Linked DNA regions of Homo sapiens: all the other regions are linked to region 1. The links are contacts of gene promoters, found by promoter capture Hi-C in blood cells and fetal thymus (Javierre and others, 2016). All regions are on one chromosome and are shown on one strand. Each heading gives the region's core, a stretch centred on a gene start or on the middle of the fragment in contact. The rest is flanking DNA. Distances are from core to core; before and after follow the strand shown. Region 1 holds the start of SUCLG1 (succinate-CoA ligase GDP/ADP-forming subunit alpha). Region 2 overlaps TGOLN2 (trans-golgi network protein 2). Region 3 overlaps TCF7L1 (transcription factor 7 like 1). Region 4 overlaps KCMF1 (potassium channel modulatory factor 1). Region 5 overlaps KCMF1 (potassium channel modulatory factor 1). Region 6 overlaps KCMF1 (potassium channel modulatory factor 1). Region 7 overlaps KCMF1 (potassium channel modulatory factor 1).

The links. The method cuts DNA at HindIII sites, captures the fragments that hold promoters and counts their contacts. A CHiCAGO score of 5 or more calls a contact.
Region 2: a contact is called between a fragment that was not itself captured here and the fragment with the promoter of SUCLG1 in region 1, in 6 of 17 cell types (total B cells, naive CD4 T cells, naive B cells and 3 more). The highest score is 9.0, in total B cells.
Region 3: a contact is called between a fragment that was not itself captured here and the fragment with the promoter of SUCLG1 in region 1, in 6 of 17 cell types (total B cells, naive CD8 T cells, activated CD4 T cells and 3 more). The highest score is 7.7, in total B cells.
Region 4: a fragment that was not itself captured here is called in contact with the fragment with the promoter of SUCLG1 in region 1 in 4 of 17 cell types (total CD4 T cells, total B cells, monocytes and 1 more); the score reaches 6.7 in total CD4 T cells.
Region 5: a contact is called between a fragment that was not itself captured here and the fragment with the promoter of SUCLG1 in region 1, in 5 of 17 cell types (activated CD4 T cells, total CD8 T cells, total CD4 T cells and 2 more). The highest score is 7.7, in activated CD4 T cells.
Region 6: a contact is called between a fragment that was not itself captured here and the fragment with the promoter of SUCLG1 in region 1, in 5 of 17 cell types (total B cells, naive CD8 T cells, total CD8 T cells and 2 more). The highest score is 11.7, in total B cells.
Region 7: a contact is called between a fragment that was not itself captured here and the fragment with the promoter of SUCLG1 in region 1, in 3 of 17 cell types (total B cells, naive CD8 T cells and total CD4 T cells). The highest score is 7.1, in total B cells.

What each region holds. Positions count from the first base shown.
Region 1 is chr2:84,457,824-84,460,864 of GRCh38, reverse strand. It overlaps SUCLG1 (succinate-CoA ligase GDP/ADP-forming subunit alpha), which reads left to right and starts at 1,585. Exons shown (of 9, transcript NM_003849.4): 1 at 1,585-1,692. The coding sequence starts at 1,596. It also overlaps a transcript of DNAH6 not described here. RefSeq lists a silencer at 1,039-1,228 and an enhancer at 1,409-1,548. The HindIII fragment of the contact is 6,917 bases long and covers 1-2,252 here.
Region 2 is chr2:85,324,892-85,327,932 of GRCh38, reverse strand. TGOLN2 (trans-golgi network protein 2) reads left to right here. Exons shown (of 4, transcript NM_006464.4): 1 at 1-16; 2 at 248-1,425; 3 at 2,935-3,018. Among named protein-coding and RNA genes, the nearest start is that of TGOLN2, 1.6 kb to the left of the region's middle. RefSeq lists enhancers at 752-931, 1,172-1,341. The HindIII fragment of the contact is 413 bases long and covers 1,068-1,480 here.
Region 3 is chr2:85,288,417-85,291,457 of GRCh38, reverse strand. All of the region lies in intron 4 of TCF7L1 (transcription factor 7 like 1), which reads right to left. Among named protein-coding and RNA genes, the nearest start is that of TGOLN2, 38 kb to the left of the region's middle. RefSeq lists an enhancer at 1,008-1,508. The HindIII fragment of the contact is 5,806 bases long and covers 1-3,041 here.
Region 4 is chr2:85,059,267-85,062,307 of GRCh38, reverse strand. It overlaps KCMF1 (potassium channel modulatory factor 1), which reads right to left. Exons shown (of 7, transcript NM_020122.5): 7 at 2,836-3,041. Among named protein-coding and RNA genes, the nearest start is that of LINC01964, 6.6 kb to the left of the region's middle. The HindIII fragment of the contact is 2,608 bases long and covers 270-2,877 here.
Region 5 is chr2:85,039,961-85,043,001 of GRCh38, reverse strand. The region is part of intron 3 of KCMF1 (potassium channel modulatory factor 1); the gene reads right to left. Among named protein-coding and RNA genes, the nearest start is that of LINC01964, 26 kb to the left of the region's middle. The HindIII fragment of the contact is 2,754 bases long and covers 46-2,799 here.
Region 6 is chr2:85,022,710-85,025,750 of GRCh38, reverse strand. All of the region lies in intron 1 of KCMF1 (potassium channel modulatory factor 1), which reads right to left. Among named protein-coding and RNA genes, the nearest start is that of LINC01964, 43 kb to the left of the region's middle. RefSeq lists an enhancer at 1,793-2,477. The HindIII fragment of the contact is 2,803 bases long and covers 213-3,015 here.
Region 7 is chr2:85,001,842-85,004,882 of GRCh38, reverse strand. All of the region lies in intron 1 of KCMF1 (potassium channel modulatory factor 1), which reads right to left. Among named protein-coding and RNA genes, the nearest start is that of KCMF1, 32 kb to the right of the region's middle. The HindIII fragment of the contact is 544 bases long and covers 1,313-1,856 here.

The sequences.
Region 1 (3,041 bases), core at 336-2,835:
TTTGTATAAGGGCACTGGCTTTTAATATTTAACTTAACCACTCAGTCAGCACTGAAACATTGTTATGGAGGCCTGCGTTAGTGAGACCTGGTCTGCCACAGGGGTGCAGTTATTACAAGAGGTTGAAATATCCTAAGTCCATCAAACATTGCCTGTGGATCCAAAAAATAATCTATATACTACTATTTCTCCTATATATATCAATTCAATTCAACGATGAGTTATTTGTGTAAGGCATTGTTCTAGGTGCTGGGGATACTCCAGGATACAAAACAAACAAAAATCCCCGTCTTCATGGAAATACAAATTTTCATTAAAAGTGTACTGAAATTATATTTTTTGTCATCATGCATTTTATCAATTAAATGAAACTAAACATATAACTTATCAAGCGACAGCTCAGGAATAATTTTGCTATTTAAAATAGCAAGGGATTTTCTATTTATTTGCCATAAAAATGTCCATTTTGTTATAATGGATATATCTGGAAACCACTGATACTATTTAACTCTGAGGAATTTAGTTATCACAAGAACATGATCCATGAGGGAGGAGTTTATTTGCAGTGAAGTCCAACCTGTTAATGACAATATTTGGATCATAAAGGAAGTATTGGGCAATCTCCTGGGGTAATCCCACTCATCCATCCCACAGCTCAGTGCCAATTATAATGACTACCTAAGTAAATTAGGATTGCAATTTTATTGACAATTCTGATGAGGAATCTCAGGAGCACGATTTTCGGCAGAGACGCAGATTACTTCATCTCTTGTTTACCTTTTGACTCTGGGACTCTCTGAGGTTCCTTCTAAAGCTGTTACAGAAGAGGGAACTGTTTGTCCAATCAGGGAGCAAAGTCACATTTGACCTCGAATTTCAGCCCTTAGGATCCTCAGGGAATAAACACTCATGCACTTAGTGCTAGTCAAAGACTGCATGATTATTTAACTAAAAAAATTCACATTCCAAGAAGTTAACTGTCAGTAAGATAGGTTTTGGTCTTTCTCATCACATCTTTCCCTTCACAGGCCACCAGTGCCAGTTCGAATTCCCGTCCCCAGCGGCAACCCTTCCGGGTCCAGGCACAGGTACGCGGTGAGAAATATTATTCTCTCTAATAGCAAACGAGGAAAACGAAGGGGGAAGGAGATGGGCCTGGGATACAAAGTTCTGGCACTGCTCTTCGCACCTCACCTCGCTGTTTCTTCCCTCCTAGTCTTCAAGTCCCTTGTCTCCCCGGTCTCACTGCCGCTCTTCCCTCGCTCCCTTCCCGCCGCCTCACTCAAAAGCTACGAACCAGTCGCGGCCGTCAGACTACATTGCCCACAATGCCACGCGCTGGCCAGTCTCGCGTGGGGTTTTCCCTCAGCTGCTGTTATAATTAATGTTAATCAAACCCACATTTCTAGGAAGGAGCCGAGTTATTATCTGCCTCTCCGATAGGATGCCTCTTTGTCTTCACCTGCCATTCCCGCTGTTTCGTGAAGAATCCTCTGTAAAGGGAAATTTGTTCAGGCGACTGCTGTGGCCACCCTCTGCCTCCTCCGGCCTCTGCCCCTGGGAGGTCCCCGGGGGCCTGGGAGTGTCATTGGCGTATGACCGCAACCCTTGCCGCTGCCGCTGACATCGCTACCATGGTCTCCGGCAGCAGCGGCCTCGCCGCCGCCCGTCTCCTGTCGCGCAGCTTCCTCCGTGAGTCCAGCCAGTACTGTCTTCCTGGCGCCCGCGGGTTATTGGCCCCGCCGGACCCAACCTCCTGGCCCAGGCCGCGGCTGGGCCCTCAGGGCTGGACCTCGGCGGGGGCCTGGGAGCCGCTTGGGATTCCGGCTTCGAGTCGGGGACCCCTACGGTGGAAGGAGCTTTGCTGGATACGTGGGGCGGGGGGCATGACTTAGGCCGCTGGCAGATGGAGATATTGGGTGGCTGAGCCAGGATTCGGGTCCGGGAGCCCTGCAAATTTGGGAGCTTGCTCTCGGCCCCGCGGTGACAAATGACAGGATGGGGGTGGCGTCTAGACTGGCCTTATTTGGAGTTGGGGATGAAGAGGTCCAAGGTGAACTTGGTGGGGAAGGTAAGGGTCTGGGTTGAGAGGTAGAGGAAGAGTGTCTCAGTAGGAAGTTGGGGGATGAGGCTGTCCCTAGTACGGAAAGGTCCTGCACTTCGAATTCCCCCTCTGCAGGATTGTATGTCAGGGAAAGATGGTTTCTGCACACGGAGTGGGGTCGGCATAGCCGCATAGACTACTAGAAGCTTATGGTTGGCTGGGACCTAAACCAGCTTATTTGCAGTGTCTCCACCAGGCGATTTGTGGACACATCCGTTCCCGAAAACTTAGTACCCAAGGTTGCTAGTCTTTGAGACACGCTGACTATGGAAAATTCTTGCCATATTCAAAGTCTCTGTGCTTGTCAGGTAGGTTATAGTAGAAAGAAACTTTGGAATCAGCCACATCAGGGTTTGAAGTCTGGCTAGTCCCTTTTCAGTCTGTGTAATAACCCTGGACACTTAATCTGTTTTTCAGTGTTTCCAATCACATGAAAATATTAACACATTTTAAGGGGCCTGAAGCACCATCACTTGTAAGGTGGACCATTATTTTGTTTACCACTAACAATGAAGAACGATTGCTTATTAAAACTGTGACACACCAGTGGTTGTCACATGTATCCTGGTTTTTTAAAAAGTGAAAAAAAATGTGCATTTTAGCAATGATGATGTACAGGATGATCTGGGTTCACTGCAGAATAAGTGGAGCAATTTATATAAAGCATCTCGTATGTAACAAACACTCAAAGTTAGTTTTCTTTTTCCGCTTTGCTCTTAATTCTGCTTGTACTGAATATTTTATGAGACTTAATTCCTTTCTTGAGAAGATTACATTCTGAAAGTGTACATTGATGAGTGTGCACTCAATAGCTAACACTTAGTTGCCAATCACTTGAGGACAAAGGTCTGGCTAGATAACGTTAGCAAGTATGAAATGGTTTGTTTGGTAAAGCTTTCTGGAGATTCTTGAGAGTGTTGTAGGCAGAAGGACAAAA
Region 2 (3,041 bases), core at 25-2,524, 870 kb before region 1:
AACGTCGCAGCGGCGGGTAAGACCCTCCATCCCGCATCCCACTCTTGCCCCCAGATCCCCCATTCTCACCTGGGCAGGTCACCTCTAGGCTCGCTTCTTCCCTACCCGACCCACCTCTCCGCTCGCCATCGTCTCCCGCCCCACCCCCCAATCCCCATTCCCCCGCTGCTCCCGATCTCTTCCAGTTCTGAGGAGTTCCTTCTTCCCGCCTGCCCTTCTCCGGTGCTAACTCGTTTTTCTATTTCAGGAGCCGTGCCGCTCTTGGCCACCGAAAGCGTCAAGCAAGAAGAAGCTGGAGTACGGCCTTCTGCAGGAAACGTCTCCACCCACCCCAGCTTGAGCCAACGGCCTGGAGGCTCTACCAAGTCGCATCCGGAGCCGCAGACTCCAAAAGACAGCCCTAGCAAGTCGAGTGCGGAGGCGCAGACCCCAGAAGACACCCCCAACAAGTCGGGTGCGGAGGCAAAGACCCAAAAAGACAGCTCCAACAAGTCGGGTGCGGAGGCAAAGACCCAAAAAGGCAGCACTAGCAAGTCGGGTTCGGAGGCGCAGACCACAAAAGACAGCACTAGTAAGTCGCATCCGGAGCTGCAGACTCCAAAAGACAGCACTGGCAAATCGGGTGCGGAGGCGCAGACCCCAGAAGACAGCCCCAACAGGTCGGGTGCGGAGGCAAAGACCCAAAAAGACAGCCCTAGCAAGTCAGGTTCGGAGGCGCAGACCACAAAAGATGTCCCTAATAAGTCGGGTGCGGACGGCCAGACCCCAAAAGACGGCTCCAGCAAGTCGGGTGCGGAGGATCAGACCCCAAAAGACGTCCCTAACAAGTCGGGTGCGGAGAAGCAGACTCCAAAAGACGGCTCTAACAAGTCCGGTGCAGAGGAGCAGGGCCCAATAGACGGGCCCAGCAAGTCGGGTGCGGAGGAGCAGACCTCAAAAGACAGCCCTAACAAGGTGGTTCCAGAGCAGCCTTCCCGGAAAGACCATTCCAAGCCCATCTCCAACCCTTCTGATAACAAGGAGCTCCCCAAGGCTGACACAAACCAGCTTGCTGACAAAGGGAAGCTTTCTCCTCATGCTTTCAAAACCGAATCTGGGGAGGAAACTGACCTCATTTCTCCCCCGCAGGAGGAAGTTAAGTCTTCAGAGCCTACTGAGGATGTGGAGCCCAAAGAGGCTGAAGATGATGATACAGGACCCGAGGAGGGCTCACCGCCCAAAGAAGAGAAAGAAAAGATGTCCGGTTCTGCCTCCAGTGAGAACCGTGAAGGGACACTTTCGGATTCCACGGGTAGCGAGAAGGATGACCTTTATCCGAACGGTTCTGGAAATGGCAGCGCGGAGAGCAGCCACTTCTTTGCATATCTGGTGACTGCAGCCATTCTTGTGGCTGTCCTCTATATCGCTCATCACAACAAGCGGAAGGTAAGTCGACAGCGGCCTTCCGGAGGGGAGTGGGGTTTCCAGCACCCTGGAAGCTTGGGTGTGGGTGGGTATCCCGTCACTAGATGCCCGTGAGCACTGGGGACTTTAAAACAAACTTCAGTTTTTTCCTCAGGCCCTATTAGGCCTCTTTACTCTTGTTTTGTTAATCGTGTTTTCATCCTGTCACCTGTTTACTCTGAGTGTCCTCTGCTACTGCATTAGGAGCCAAGTTAGGACATTATTAGGATCTGACCTGACTTGGAATCTCCTCCCATAACTTTGCACTTAGGTCCTTCACAGCCTCAGAGGACCTGAGTACTTGACAGTTAAAGCACGTACCTTCCATCCTATTTCCCTTCTTGAGACGATATGTCATTTCTAGCTTCCTTTCCCAACATTCTCTCTTCCATCAGCAGTGGCACAAAGAATGGTTTCAATTACTGCGTCTTCGATACCAGGACCAAAGAGCCCAGGGACTTCTGCAATTAATAATAATTAGAAGAAAGCCCAGAAATTGCACAGACACGTACACCTGTTACTTTTTCATCAGGGTTTGGTCTGTTTATTAGCAACCACTCTAATGACAAAATGATTGCATTTCATATTGAGCCCCCAACATTTAGAAGCTAGTTTCTGTAACCTGCTTAAAATTGGAGAGTCCAATTCTGGCCATAAGGCCTATGGCTATAAAGAATAAAGGGGAAGACCTTTAGTAAAAATGTGCATTCCTGGCCCGGTGCAGTGGCTCCTGCCTCTAATCCCAGCACTTTGGGAGGCCGAGGCAGGAGGATCGCTTGAGCCCAGGAGTCCGAGACCAGCCTGGCCAACATAGCAAGACCTCGTCTCTACATATAATAAAAAAATTAGCCAGATGTGGTGGTGGACGTGTGTGGTCCCAGCTACTCAGGAGGCTGAAGTGGGAGGATGGCTTGACTGTGGGAGGTCGAGGCTTCAGTGAGCCATGATCACGCCATTGCACTCCAGCCCGGGTGACAGAGTGAGACCTTGCCTCTAAGAAAAAAAAAAAGTGTATTTCTTATTCTATGTCCAAGTGTCCATTATGCAGGGTAACCTTAGTCATGAAATGAGATTGATAAAGAATGTAGTTGATGTAGCATCGTGGGGTGAAAAAGTACATTTGTAGATAGGAAATTCTGATTATGACTTTTTTTAAAGGAATGTCCTATATCCTAGATATCTCTAGGAAGGAGTTGATAGATCTTTGACTGTGTACCTTTGAATAAATCAAACAGACTTCCTCCCACACGCTAGAGCTCAGACAGCCTTCTATTTGTTATTTCCTATTAAGCAATACAAAGGATTCTGATGTAATTAGGCTCTGTCTTTCTTAAAATGGTTATAGTTTAAATAGACCTCTGTGAGTGTACTGCTCTTTCTACAGTCAGGGTCATTAACAAATATGCTACCAGGTGACTGCCTCTGAGTTCAGAGACTGAACTATGTCATTACAGAGCCACCTGTTAATCATTTTCTTTTTCCTTTCCTCAGATCATTGCTTTTGTCCTGGAAGGAAAAAGATCTAAAGTCACCCGGCGGCCAAAGGCCAGTGACTACCAACGTTTGGACCAGAAGGTAAGGAAGGAGGAGCCAGGTCC
Region 3 (3,041 bases), core at 1-2,500, 830 kb before region 1:
GGAACTAGTGGAAAGGCGATTCTTGTTACAAAGTGGGAAGAAACATGGCTGAGTTATTTTGTAGTGTTTTGTGAAAGGTAGAACTTGTGAGTGATGAATTTAGATATTCAGCACAAGTTATTTCTAAGCAAAGTGCTGAAGGTGTGGCTTGGTTTCTCCTTACTGCTTGTAGTAAAATGTGAGAAGTAAATTATTGTTAAGCAAAAAGGAACCAGAACTTGAAAATTTAGAAAATTCTCAGCCTAGCCTCATTGCAAAAAAATGAGAAGGTGTGTTCCTAAGAGAACACCAATGGTGTGGCTGGACGATCAGATAATGAGACTGGGGCTGTGAAGCATGGATTCAACCAACCACCTCAGCAGAAATACTGCCCTTTTGGATTAAAATGGACAAAGACAGGACAAAGGGAAGGAAGGCTGTCAGACTTCTACAGAATGGGCTACAGTGATGTGGCTGCAAACATTTGTTATCTTTCAAGAAGAGGGAAGAATGACCCCAAGAGGGGATTCACAAGGTGTGGCTGCCGCCCAGGGCCTCAGGGGCACAGCTCCCAGCTCCCATCCTGGTGGGCTGGAAGGACAGAGAATGAATGGTGCCAAAGAGGATTATTCTTGAGCATTAAATTGAATAGAACTCTGCTAGCAGACTGCCTTTAGACTTAGACTGTAACTCTTCCCTGCCAGTCTCCAGCCTGCCAGCTTACCCTCTTAAATCTTTCTCCCTCTACACATTCACACTCACTCACTCACTCGCTATATATACATACATCACCTTGGTTCTGTTTCCCTGGAGAACCCTAACACAGAACTGTCCTATATCTTTTTTATTTTTACTTTTCATACCAAGCTAAGCTGACTAGGAGAACTGTTCTATATCTTGATTGTGGTGAACTCATGTATGACTGCAAAAGTTTGTCAAAACTCACAGAACTATATACTCATGTGAATTTCACTATATGTAAATTATATCTTAAAAATGGGGAGGTTGGGCATGATGGCTCATGCCTGTAATCCTAGCACTTTTGGAGACTGAGGCAGGCGGATCACTTGAGGCCAGGAGTGCAAGGCCAGCCTGAGCAACATAGCGAGACCCTAACTCTAATTTTTTTTAAATGGGGGGAAAAGCGCACACGTATACAAATATATGCACAGGATGCTAACTTTAGCTTAAAAACTGGGGCCGGGTGAGGTGGCTCACGCCTGTAATTCCAGCACTTTGGGAGGCCAAGGCGGGCAGATCACCTGAGGTCAGGAGTTCAAGACCAGCCTGGCTATCATGGTGAAACCCCGTCTCTACTAAAAAAATACAAAAATTAGCCATGTGTGGTGGCAGGCGCCTGTAATCCCAGCTACTTGGGAGGCTGAGGCAGGGAGAATTGCTTGAACCCGGAGTGTGAAAGTTGCAGTGAGCTGAGATCGCACCACTGCACTCCAGCCTGGGCGACATAGTGAGACTCTGTCTCGGAGAAAAAAAAAAAAAAACTGGGCTAGGCGTGGTGGCTCGTGCCTGTAATCCCAGCACTTTGGGAGGCTGAGGTGCGCGGATCCCGTGAGGCCAGGAGTGCCAGACCAGCCTAGCCAACATGATGAAACCCCGTCTCTACTAAAAATACAAAAAAATTAGCTGGGCGTGGTGGTGAATACCTGTAATCCCAGGTACTCGGGAGGCTGAGGCAGGAGAATCTCTTGAACCCAGGAGGTGGAGGTTGCAGTGAGCTGAGTTTGTGCCACTGCACTCCAGCCTGGGCAACAGTGAGACTGTCTCAAAACAAACAAACAACTGGAAACCATCTATGTCTATCTATTTTTAAAATGTTTAAATAAAAGGCAACCAGGAAGAGAGAGGTGGCAAAGTTTCAAAGGTGGTAGATATTTCTGCCTTTGCACTAACCTCATCTAGATTTTTCTCTACACCTTCCTCTATCCCTCAACTCCTTACTCTCTAGGTCCCTTTTCTGATTCTGGATGCTCAGCCTAACAGCTAAAATTTGCATTAAAAAACCCCTGAATATCTGACCATTTTCCAAAAAGCTGGATTAAGTCACTCTAAAGTTTTGGAGAACTGCAACCATTTCCAAGTTATCTGGATTATTTGTCTCCTGGTCTCTGGGTCTCTGGCCCCATTTGCCTGTAACTCAGCAGAATTTATTAGGCATCTACCTGGACAGGAAGCATTTTGGTCATCAGAGAGCAAGTTATAAGTATACACACACACACACACACACACACACACACACTCCAGACTGAAATACTATTTAACAAAATGTTTGTGGGTTGTGGGATTATAGATCTTTTTCTGTGCTTTCTGGCATTTTCCCAAGAGTTCTACACAGTGCATGCATTACTTTTACGGTTTCAAAAAAAGATTTTTTAAAATTAAAAAACAGTTCTGAATGAAAAAAGGGGTTGGATCTTGGGTAAATGTGGGTAGAGAAGGGGTATTAACTTTTTACCAGACCATTCATTCTTCCATTCATTCAACAAATGCTCCCGAGCATTACAACAGGCGCTCAGATGCGATTCCTGTCTTCGTGTTGCTTATATTCTAGAGGGGCATATATGTGTTTTGCGTGGCTGGACACAGTGCTCCTGGGGGACACTGGAGGGAAGACAGGCACCTGGCATGTGGGGCCATGGTGAGGGGTCTGGATAATAATCTGCAAGTGATGAAATTACACTGATCGGATCTTACAAATAGTTGCTTATACAATGTTACTGTTAGTCTTTAGAGCTTGTTTTGAAGGTGTAAAGTCCAAATTATTAAGCACTTAACTTCATCCCGCACCCGGGCCCAGTTGTGACTTGCTTAGACATACTTCCTTGTTAGGCAGCTTCTACATGACTCACTAAATCTCTGCAAGTATGCAGGCTGTTTCCTTCGCTTGCTCTACTCCCAGGGCAAACCTCACCTTAAATATTTTACTCCTGACTCTAAAATACATTTCATAATCTCAAGTATTTTAACAAAAAAGCCGGTGTCCAAACCTCTGTGACTCCCTCCGAAAAACCTTCAAGTTCTGCTCACACGTCTAGCCTGGAGAG
Region 4 (3,041 bases), core at 324-2,823, 600 kb before region 1:
ACACCAGGCACTGTATTAGCACATTATTTAATACTATGATTAGCTACATTTAAGAATGAGACAATAGGCATACTGTTTAATTAAAGTTAATTAACTTGGCCAAGATCACACAGCTAGTAAGCGGTAGGGCTAAGATTGAAACTCACATCTGTGCTTGTAACCACAGCACTTTATCTTCTCCCTGTTCTGGGTGGATATTTACTTGTCAGGAAGGTTTCCATGGGAACTCCTGCACCCAGAGAGCAATTAGACCTTTCCAATTCTAAGCTTTAATTCCAGAGTTCCATTCTCCAGGTTTTCCCTAACTTCACCTCCAACCCAGCTTGATTTTGAGTCCCATCCACTGCCCTTGACACAAAAATGTGCATCTCCTTATCCCCACCGTGAATTCCAAGTTCTAACATCTGATCAAGCAAGACCACCATTTTCCCTTTTTCTTTCACAGCGCAGGCAATGTCAGTAATCCAGGAAATTCCGCAAATTTTACCTCCCCAGAATTGACCTACCAATTATTACCCATGACTTGCCTCCTAGTCCAAGCATGATCTGGGTACTTTTGAGGTAAGAGAGAGAATCCCAAGAGAGAGAACCCTAATTTCTAATACAGAAGATTCACATCCATTCTCATGATTCATTGTAATTTTTCCAACCACTTCTTTTTACAAACTTAATTCCATTCTTTCTCCCAGCCAACATCTGTTATGGCTGGCTACAGAATTTATAAGCATCTAAAAGCTATCTTACAAACACTTCATCAAATGCTGTCTACTTGAAATGTAACAATGTCTAAAATGTGTGCCTTACAACAGTATAAGATGTGAAAAGTGCTATTTGTTGCAACCTTTACATTTTAGGATTCGTGGAGTAATCAACCAACCCACCCCAATCCTTGGTGGCCAGACTCTACCAGAGCTGAAGGCAGTTTGAAAGACAGCTGTGTGAAAAGAATGTGTTGCCCAGGACCACTGGACAAGCGCCTGCGAGTGGACATGGTGGGTTTTGGTTTTCTTAGGTGGACTTGTTCGGGGCTTTATAACCATAGAATGGTGAACACTTGGAAAATACTATGAAAGGATTAAAAGTTTTATCGAAATATGCCAAAAGTGTTCTTAAAAAGATCCGGCCAGGCATGGTGGCTCATGCCTGTAATCCCAGCACTTTGGGAGGCCAAGGTGGGCAAATCGCTTGAGCCCAGGAATTTGAGACCAGGCTGGGCAACATGGTGAAACCCCATCTCTACAAAAAACACAAAAATTAGCTGGGTATGGTGGCATGTGCCTGTAGCTCCCAGCTACTCGGGAGGCAGAGGTGGGAGGATAGCTTGAGTTCAGGAGATCTAGGCTGCAGTGAGCCGAGATTGCACCACTGCACTCCAGCCTGGGAGACAGAGTGAGACCCTGTCTTAAAAAAAAAAAAAAAATACAATCCACCATCCTCCTCAGAACACAGTGACTTGGGGGACAACCCTAGAGCCCTAGGCTGGAGTGAAAGGCATTTGTTCAGGTAGATACTAAAAGGTAATTTTCACTACTTGCTTTTAAACCTGCCATTGGCTTGGCCGGGCACGGTCGTTCATTCCTGTAATCCCAGCACTTAGGGAGGCTGAGGTGGGCGGATCACCTGAGGTGAGGAGTATGAGACCAGCCTGGCCAACATAGTGAAACCCCGTCTCTCCTAAAAAACAAAAAATTTGCTGGATGTGGTGGCGCGGGCCTGTAGTCCCAGCTACTCAGGAAGCTGAGGCAGAAGAATCGCTTGAATCCGGGAGGTGGAGGTTGCAGTGAGCCGAGATTGCGCCACTGCACTCCAGCATGGGCGACAGAGTGAGACTCCGTCTCAAAAACAAAACAAACAAACACCAAACAAACACACAAAACAAAAAAAACCCTGCCATTGGCTAGAGGCAGTTGAGTGTTCAAAATGGGGAAAAACAACCACCAAAAGCCAACAGGAACTCTGAAGAGGGAAAAAAAAAATGGATAAGGAACAAGTCTTGTCCCTTCCGGTCCTGAGTGGGTGGGGCTTATGTTCATGCTGAAGTTCAGGGGGCTCCTTCTCAAGTCCTTCTTTCTAGTCTTGCCCTGTGAAGCTGTAAGTAGAATCAGTATTCCAAAGTCCTTTTCTGGACTGAGGAGAGAGGCCACATGTTCACCCCTCAGGCTCAGACACCAGCAACAGTGGTAACCAGGGTGGTCCTGAAAATTCCGTAGGCAAATGGAACTGAAACTGCAGATGTCACTGGAAGCATTAATAAAACACACACACACACACACACACACACACACACACACACACACACAGAAACAGGAGAGGACGCAGACAGGGACAATAGGAGTAATGGTATTTCACAGGGGATTTAAAACTATAGAAATGAGGCCAGGTGTGGTGGCTCACGCTTGTAATCCCAGCATTTTGGGAGGCCGAGGCAGGTGGATCACCTGAGGTTAGGAGTTTGAGACCAGCCTGACCAACATGGTGAAACCCCGTCTCTACTAAAAATACAAATACAAAATACAAAATACTAAAAATACAAAAAAGTAGCTGGGCGTGGTGGCACACATCTGTAATCCCAGCTACTTGGGAGGCTGAGGCAGGAGAATCATTTGAACCCAGAAGGCGGAGATTGCAGTGAGCCGAGATAGTGCCACTGCACTCCAGCCTGGGCAACAAGAGCAAAACTCCATCTCAAAAAACAAAACAAAACAAAAACTATAGAAATGCCGAAACACCAGTGCCACAGATGACCAAGTCTGTGTTGAACATTACTGACATCTTAAGATGACACAACACTGAAGTCACACTCAGCTATCTCAGTGAATGCAATGGAAACTGAGGTGCACAACACAAAGTTTATTCAAATCAGAAAACAGATAAGCTTCATGACAGGTGGTGATGTTATAAAAGGTAATCTATATCAAGGGTTCAGTACAAATTAGTCTCGGAGCCTGATACAATATGCAATTTATTCTAAAGTACTGTATCGTCAGTGTGATATTTTCCAAGGTAAGTCTGAATCGTGAGTGGTCAGCACACATGGTGGC
Region 5 (3,041 bases), core at 173-2,672, 580 kb before region 1:
TTTAAACCTTATTTCCTGAAGAAATGGGGTGGTAGGCCAGAAGCTTGTAACCAGGTCAGGCTCAAGGAGTAGTAGAACAACTTTCCATGGGCCTCTTGGCAAGAGATGGGAGAAAGTAGGAATAAAATGGTGTGTACACAGTCACAGTTCGGGGAGCGGGTGACAGGTTGGGAAGGTGGTTTCTATAGTTAACAGAATTGGTGAAACAGAGGGAAGGAGAGGGGAAGGCTAGAAAGAATGAGGAACGTTTTAAAGAGGAAAGGCCCTTACTCTTCCGAAATTCAAATGGACAGATAATGTTCTAACAATGGTAGCCAAGCCTTGAAGTATGAACAACTTCAATCTTAAAGAACAGGGCCAAGAAGAAAGGTCTGAAGCAAGGGGCATGACCAAAAGGAGCCCCAGGAAGTGCACAGTTCAAGTTGTAGACTTGTGTCTTTATCCATAAATAAGAAGGTTAAAGATAGGATATGTGATTCATTGCCAGTACATGTGCCGAAATTCTTTCACTTAGGCAAAATCTAGGCAATTGGTCAACCTTATTGTCTGCTGCCAGCACAGTGGGAGTAGGTGGTAGCGCTGGAGATGAGGGGAGATGGAAAAGGTGAGACTTGGAAGGACAATCCTGGGGTACGGAGGGAAAACAAACTGCTCTGATTCCTGAAGCCCAAACAAACATAACTTTCCATCTTCTAACAACTAGAAAGCAGAAGTCTCCTGAGAGTTCAACTCTGATTTGATATCAGTCTCTCTTATGCCTAATCAGCTGTCCTGATTATGTGACTCAGGACTCTGAGAAATATCCTCAGGAAAACCTAAATATGTTCATGAGAAATAACATTTAAGCATGACAGTGTGCAGAAGAACTAGACAGGTCACAATGGAATGTGATGAGGCAAAAGAGAAAAAGAAGTAGATAGACCTGCCTATGCCTTTCTTAGAAGATGCCAGGAAGGTGGTCAGATTCTTTCCTCTGTCAGAAAAGTAGCTGTATGTGTCAAAGTTTACAGATTATCCATCCACTCTCTCTTTACTAGGGATTTAACTTTTACTATCTGTACCATTCCTGTACTCTGACATTACCTGGTTATGTCTGATATACATATTTTACTTTTCACGTGCTTCTGGTCTTACCTAGCTAAACTGTAAACTCTTTGAGAGATGCAGGACAATGTGATTTGTCTTTGGTTTTAAACTCCGGCCAGACTTGCTTTTTTTAAAAAAAAAAAAAAAAAAAAAAGACCAGCAATGTTTGGAGAAACAGAAAACAAGTTCCAGTTATTTAAAAATAAAACAAGCTACCTTAGAGACTCATCATTCTGAAAAAGTTAACAAGTGCTGGGTTATAGTTTTATTACAATATTATAAGGCTGTATAAGATTTTTATTTAAAGAGAAAATAACCACCAAAAGGAAAAGGCATCTTTCTTCTAAGATACTTTCCTTTAGATTGGCCTTCGGGTAAAATCTATAAACAACTTGAGCTGTCCAATGATAGCTGCAAAGGCTTCAGTACTTGAGGGGACATAAAAATGTTGGTAGATGAGAAAAGTCTCCACAAGGATATAGATTCCTAGAAGGAAAACAGAATGGGAAGCAGAGACATCAAACGTACAAAGAATGTCCTAATAAGATAGATAATTTAACAAGTAGAAAAGCACCTTCGAGACAAGGATGTAAAATAAAATCAAGATCCTTCCTTATCGTGTATTGACTTTGGTTCTATACTCAAAATCTTTTTTATTTCATTGCAGTAATTCTGCTAAGATGGCAGGATGAAGGTATTCAGAACTGCTTCATTCAAAGAGAAATAATATAAAACCAACCAATCAACCAACCAAACTTCCATAACTACTAGGGATAAAGAATTACTGAGGATAAGAAATTACTGTGGTGGGAGGATCACCCAGGTTGACAGCTGGCATAGAAAAATCAAGAGGCTAGGCCAGGCACGGTGGCTCATGCCTGTAATCCCAGCACTTTGGAAGGCTGAGGTGGGTGGATCACAAGGTCAGGAGTTCGAGACCAGCCTGACCAACATGGTGAAACCCCATCTCTACTAAAAAATACAAAAATGACCTGGGCATGGTGGCACACGCCTGTAATCCCAGCTACTCAGGAGGCTGAGGCAGGAGAATCACTTGAACCCGGGAAGCGGAGGTTGCAGTGAGCCAAGATCGCACCACTGCACTCCAGCCTGAGCGACAGAGACTCCATCTCAAAAAAAAAAAAAAGAAAAGAAAAAAGAAAATCAAGAGGCTAGATTTAGAACCAAGTGGAAGATGTTGCCACACTTGGGTCACATGAAGTTAACTCAAATGAGGAGTTGGAAAGGAAAACTAAGCTCAGATGCTGATGCGATCACAGAGGCCTGGTCACCTTTTAGGTTTTACATTTTATATTTAGCAAGCTAACTCATGCTTTAAGACAAAAATGCTTGTTCTCAAGACTGTGTTTTCTGAGAGGAAATGAAGGGAACAAGACGAAGAAAGAAAAAGGAGAGCAAAGCGGGGCAGGAGAAATGGAAAAGAGGTGGTGGGGAGTGGGAGGAGAGACAAAGCAAGCCACTGTGCCACTCATGGGCACAAATACTGCTTAGTTTTGAGTGTGTCTTTATTTCTACATCATGGTGCCTAATATCTCTTACAGGACAGGAAAACTCGACACAAAGGGTAACTTTAGGGTACTGACCCTAAAATTATGACAGCTTGTCAACATTAATATTTATCATACTTCCACTGCCACACGATAGAGTAATATCTATTATTCATATGGAAACATTCCATGTAACACACAAGCTTAAAATTACAACAACTTGTCAATTAAGATTTACTTAACTGGCTTAAGTCAGTATTTCTTTAATTTGGCTAAGAATATAAATCATCTGGGCCAGGTGCAGTGGCTCACGCCTACAATCGCAGCACTTTGGGAGGCCAAGGCAGATGGATTGCCTGAGGTTAGGAGTTTGAGACCAGTCTGGCCAACATGGTGAAACCCCATCTCTACTAAAAATACAAAAAAAATTAGCCAGGCGTGGTGGCA
Region 6 (3,041 bases), core at 365-2,864, 560 kb before region 1:
TGTAATCTCAGCTACTCGGGTGGCTGAGGGAAGAGAATCACTTGAACCCAGGAGGCAGAGGTTGCAGTAAGCTGAGGTTGCGCCACTGCACTCCAGCCTGGGTGACAGAGCGGGACTCCTATCTCAAAAAACCAAAAAAATGTCATTTGTGATTCCATCGAGATGTGCCAAATTCAAAGAGAAGGAAAGTAGAACAGTGGTTGCCAGAAGCTTGAGGAAAGGGAGAACGGGGAGTTACGGTTTAGTGGGTAGAGAGTTTTCAAGTTTGGGATAATGGAAGAATTCTGGAGATGGACAGTGGTGATGGTTCCAAGAATGTGAATATACTTAATGCTACTGAACTGTACACCTAAAAGGGGTTAAAATAAATTTTATGCTATGTATATTTTACTGCAATAAAAAAATAAGCCATTTGCAACAGCATTTTAAAAAAGTGCCTATGAATAAATCTAACCAAAGATAGGCAGCCCTTTATGAAGCAAATTAGTAAAAATGTATTCAAAGACACTAAAGGACTTTAAAAAATATAAATACCAACTTCATGGACTGGAAGGTTCATAATAAAATGTCAACAGATTTGTGGATTCAATACAATTAATAACCAAAATTTAAAAAGAATTTTTTTGTGGGGCATGGTAAGCTGACTCAAATGTTGATGCAAGTTACAAAAAGGGCCAAGGAGAGTCAAGATGCTCCCAAGAAAAATGAGATAGAGGGACTTGTTTTATATATCAAGAGCTAAACTAATAAATAATAAGTAACACCATAACAAATAATAAACCTATAATAACTACAGTAAGATGGAATGGCACCAGGGTAGAGACAAACTGGCCCATGGAATAGAACGGAAAGACCAGAAACAGATGTTGAAATCTGTTTTACAACAGCAAGGTCACTAAAGAGCACTGAGAAAAAAAGGGAATGGACAATAAATGGTGCTGAACAGGTGATTATCTGCATGTGGGGAAAACAGAATTGGATCTCTCCCCATATCCTATACACACAAAAAATCAATTCCACATGGTTTAAAGACGGATTCAAAAGAACAATGAAAAATATCTCTAGAAGACAATATAGAATATTTTTATGAGTCTAAAGTAGAAAACAATTTCTTAAATCTTTCTCTTTCTCACACACACACGCGCACACACACACACACACACACACTCTCTCTCTCTCTCTCTCTCTCTCTCTCTCACTCTCCAAATCAAAAAGTAAGAGATAAGTCCAACTACGTTAAGACTTTTTCTTCATCTTTTGTTTTTGTTTTATTCTTTTGAGATAGAGTCTCACTCTGTCGCCGGGGCTGGAGTGCAATGGTGAGATCTTGGCTCACTGCAACCTCCGCCTCCTGGGTTCAAGCAATTCTCCTGCCTCAGCCTCCCAAGGAGTTGGGATCATAGGCGCCTGGCACCATGCCCAGCTAATTTTTGTATTTTTAGTAGAGACGGGGTTTCACCACGTTGGCCAGGCTGGTCTCGAACTCCGGGTGATCTGCCCGCCTGGGCCTCCCAAAGTGCTGGAATTACAACAGGCGTGAGCCACCACGCTCGGCCTTTTTCTTCGTCTTTTCACAGCCTACATTGATTGAAAATATAAGGTTCAGAAACTGGCGATATGTACAACATACATGACAGACAAAAGTTTGGTATTCAGAATGCATTATGAACTCTTACATATCAGTAAGTAAATGATGAATGCTTAGTAGAAAAATGGAGAAACCTGTCAAAGGGCACTCAAAGAACAACAAACATAAATGGCCAGTAAACATATGAAAAGATGCTCAATCTCATTAGTCATCAAAGAAGTGCATGATTAACATCCGTGAGCTAGCATTTTACATTTACCAAACCGGTAAGAAACTACAAGTTTCATGATATCAAGTGTTAGTGAAGATAAAGGGCAGCAGAAGTGCTTATACCCTGCTGGTAGGAGTGTAAATCAGCACAACCACTTTGAAAAATTTGTTCATATTTTTAGTCAAGTTAAACACATATACCTCCTATGATACCGTAATTTCACTCTTAAATAAATTCCCGGGGAGGGAATCTTTTGTCTGTGTGCACCTAGAGAATGTGGAAGAATGTTGACGGCAGTTTTTGTAACTGAATTTTAAAAAGGCTACTCAGGGGCTGGGCGCGGTGGCTCACGCCTGTAATCCCAGCACTTTGGGAGACCGAGGCGGGCGGATCACAAGGTCAGTAGATCGACACCATCCTGGCTAACACGGTGAAACCCCGTCTCTACTAAAAATACAAAAAAAAATTAGCCAGGCGTGGTGGCGGGCGCCTGTAGTCCCAGCTACTCAGGAAGCTGAGGCAGGAGAATGGCGTGAACCCAGGAGGCGGAGCTTGCAGTGAGCTGAGATCGCGCCACTGCACTCCAGCCTGGGCGAGAAAGTGCGAGACTCCGTCTCAAAAAAAAAAAAAAAAAGGCTATTCAGATTCAAAGGCTCAACAGTTCAATATGCACAGAATGAATTGGAAAAAGAATGAATCACAGCAACGGTAAGAACATCTGCCTCAGATGAGTGAAAGGAAATTTCAAAGAATACATACAGTATTGGCCGGGCGCGGTGGCTCACGCCTGTAATCCCAGCACTTTGGGAGGCCGAGGCGGGCGGCTCATGAGGTCAGGAGATCGAGACCATCCTGGCTAACACAGTGAAACCCCGTCTCTACTAAAAATACAAAAAATTAGCCAGGCGTGATGGCGGCCGCCTGTAGTTCCAGCTTCTGGGGAGACTGAGGCAGGAGAATGGCGTGAACCCAGGAGGCGGAGCTTGCAGTGAGCTGAGATCAGCCACCGCACTCTAGCCTGGGCAACAGAGCGAGACTCCGTCTCAAAAAAAAAAAAAAAAAAAAGAATACATACAGTATAAAGTTGAAAACCAGTATCTAGTTTAGGAAATCAAACATGTAGTAAAACTATAAAAGGAAAATGAGGGAATGATAAAATTTTGGTCAGTGGCTCCCTCTGGGGTTTAAGGTGATGAAGAGATGAGTATGTGAAGCTTTTACGGATCTTGAAATGCAACGTTT
Region 7 (3,041 bases), core at 335-2,834, 540 kb before region 1:
GCCTGGGCGACAAGAGTGAAACTCCATCTCAAAAATAAATAAATAAATAAATAAATAGGCCTACAGTCCTCCAAAATTTTCAGTGTCATTCATAAAAAGGCCTAGTTCAAGCAAGACTCATGAAAATCTCAAGATAGAAGACTGAGGCATGACCGGTAATATAAAGGGTAAGCAAACAATCCTACGAATCACAACTGGCTTCATTCTCAGTTAAGACAGACCCTGTGCCCACCTGCCCCCCTCCAAAAAATTCAGTTGTTCTCACACTCTGCAAGAGTTCTAGCTTAGGCACCACCCACAGGTCAGAATATACTGCAGTCCTCCCAACCCAAAGTTTTGCTTTCTCTTTTTTTTTATTATTATTTTTTTTTGAGATGGAGTCTTGCTCTGTCGCCCAGGCTGGAGTGCAGTGGCGCGATCTCGGCTCACTGCAAACTCCACCTCCTGGGTTCACGCCATTCTCCTGCCTCAGCCTCCAGAGTAGCTGGGACTACAAGGTGCCCGCCACCATGCCTGCCTAATTTTTTGTACTTTTAGTAGAGGCAGGTTTTCACCATGTTAGCCAGGATAGTCTCAATCTCCTGACATCGTGATCTGCCCGCCTTGGCCTCCCAAAGTGCTGGGATTACAGGTGTGAGCCACCACGCCCCGCCCCAAAGTTTTGCTTTCTGAGGTTTCAGTTATCCGTGGTCAACAGTGGTCTGAAAATATTAAATGGAAAATTCCAGAGACAAACAATTCATAAGTTTTAAACTACCTACTGTTTTGAATAGTGTGATGACATCATGCACTGTCCCACTCGGAGGTGAATCATCCCTTTGCTTGGCGTATCTGTGCTGTATACCTGCCCACTAGTCACTTAGCAGCTGGTTATCAGATGAATAACAGGATACATAGGGTTCAGTACTATCCACAGGTTCAGGCATCCACTGGGTGGTCTTGGAAAAATGTCCCCCCTCAGATAAAGGGTGACTACTGTAAGGCAGAACCAGGGCCTTTACCCTATGCTAACCCTTTTTAGCTTCCTCACACAATTACATGCTTGCTACATCTTCTTTCATTTGCCCAGTTATCTTGGGCCTGTAAGGTCCTGTACTTGACCCTATTTTATATATGTTTTTATTAGTGACTTAGAAAATGACAGTAGGCCAGGTGTGGTAGCTCACGCCTGTAATCCTAGGCAGGAGGATTCCTAGAGCCCAGGAGTTTGAGATCCACCTGGGTAACATCGGGAGACCCGGTTTCTATTTAAAACAAACAAACAAAAAATTAAAAATAAAAAAAATAAAATGACAGCAAACATTTATAAGCTTGTGCATAAAACAAACAGTTAAAATACTAGATGACAGAACAGAGATTGAAGCGAGGCAAACGGGTATGTAAAACAAGACTTATTTTTTTTTTTGAGACGGAGTCTCACTCTGTCGCCCAGGCTGGAGTGCACTGGCACGATCTTGGCTCACTGCAAGCTATGCCTCCAGGGTTTGCACCATTCTCCTGCCTCAGCCTCCCGAGTAGCTAGGACTACAGGTGCCCGCCACCACGCCTGGCTAATTTTTTTTTTCTTTTTTTTAGTAGAGACGGGGTTTCACCGTGTTAGCCAGAATGGTCTCAATCTCCTGACCTCGTTATCTGCCCGCCTTGGCCTCCCAAAGTGCTGGGATTACAGGCGTGAGCCACCGCGCCCGGCCAACAAGATGAATTTTAAAAGGACTTCGTACAAAGTTTTGCCTTTGGATAAAACAATTCATGTGATAAGAAATCCTGGATTAATTAACTAAGCAAAACCTTAGCGTCAATATTAGCCCAAGATGAGATGCAGTTGCTAAAAATGCCAGCAAATAAACAAGCAAGCTTAGATTGCATTAATAACCATACAAGATTCATAACTGTGATATATCTACAACATTTTACTCTGCCAGACCATATGTGAAGAACTACATTCAGTTCTGTGTGTCTTGTTTTAAAATGGGAAACAAGTACAGTAGTATATATAGTTATATAGTTAGTATATATAGTATATAGACAGAATGGCAAAGTATCTAGAAACTACACCAAGAGAAATTACTAAAGGACAAAATGGGCTGTTCAGCAAAAGAGCTGGGAACAGGCAACACTGAGGGGATGCCACAGCTCCATACAGAGCTATCACAAAGAGGCAGTACACTCAGTTCTCTGTAGCTACTAAGGTCAAAACCAGGAGACACTAAATGCAACCTGGTATCCTGGATCCCACACAGAAAAGGGATATTAGTGAAAAAAAAAAAACACAGTTAAGACCTCAATAAAGTCAGGAGCTTTATTAGTAATAATGTACTAGTGTTGGTTTCTTAGTTTTGCCAAATGTACCAATGTAATGCAAACTATTAACATTAGGAAAAACCAGGTAAGGAATATATGGGAAGTCTCTATACTACCTTTGCAACTTTTCTGTAAATCAAAAATTATCCCAAAATAAAAGTTTATTTTTAAAAAGTAAGCTAACAAGGAGGCAGGTGGTTCAAAGGATGATTCTCTGATGGTACAGTGAATGCTCTGTCAATGCATGCGTTATGGTCAAAGATTAAAAGACAAACTGAAATGCTTTTGAAAGGGTTTCTGCATATTTCATAGGACACTGGTACCATCTAAACTGGAGGTTAAATGAATTTAGTAGGGCCATTAATATTTATACTGGAGACTGAAAACCAGAATGTAAAGAACAAAGCTAACTGAAGTAGATCCATCACTACTAGGAAAGTAACAATTTTGTATTTGCAATAATGTTATTAATATAATCAATTCTTCTACCTGTTTTGAGGAGGATGCCAAAGCCTACCATGGTTAGGTCAATGAAGGACTGCATATATGATGGTGGTCCCACAAGTTTATTTTTACTGATACCTTTTTTATGTTTAGGTATGTTTAGAACCACAAATAGCATTGTGTTATAACTGCCTACAGTATTGAGTACAGCAACATATTATGCAGGTTTCTAGCTTAGATAAACAACAAGCTATCCATATAGCCTAGGTGTACAGTAGGGGTTTGTGTTAGTACAC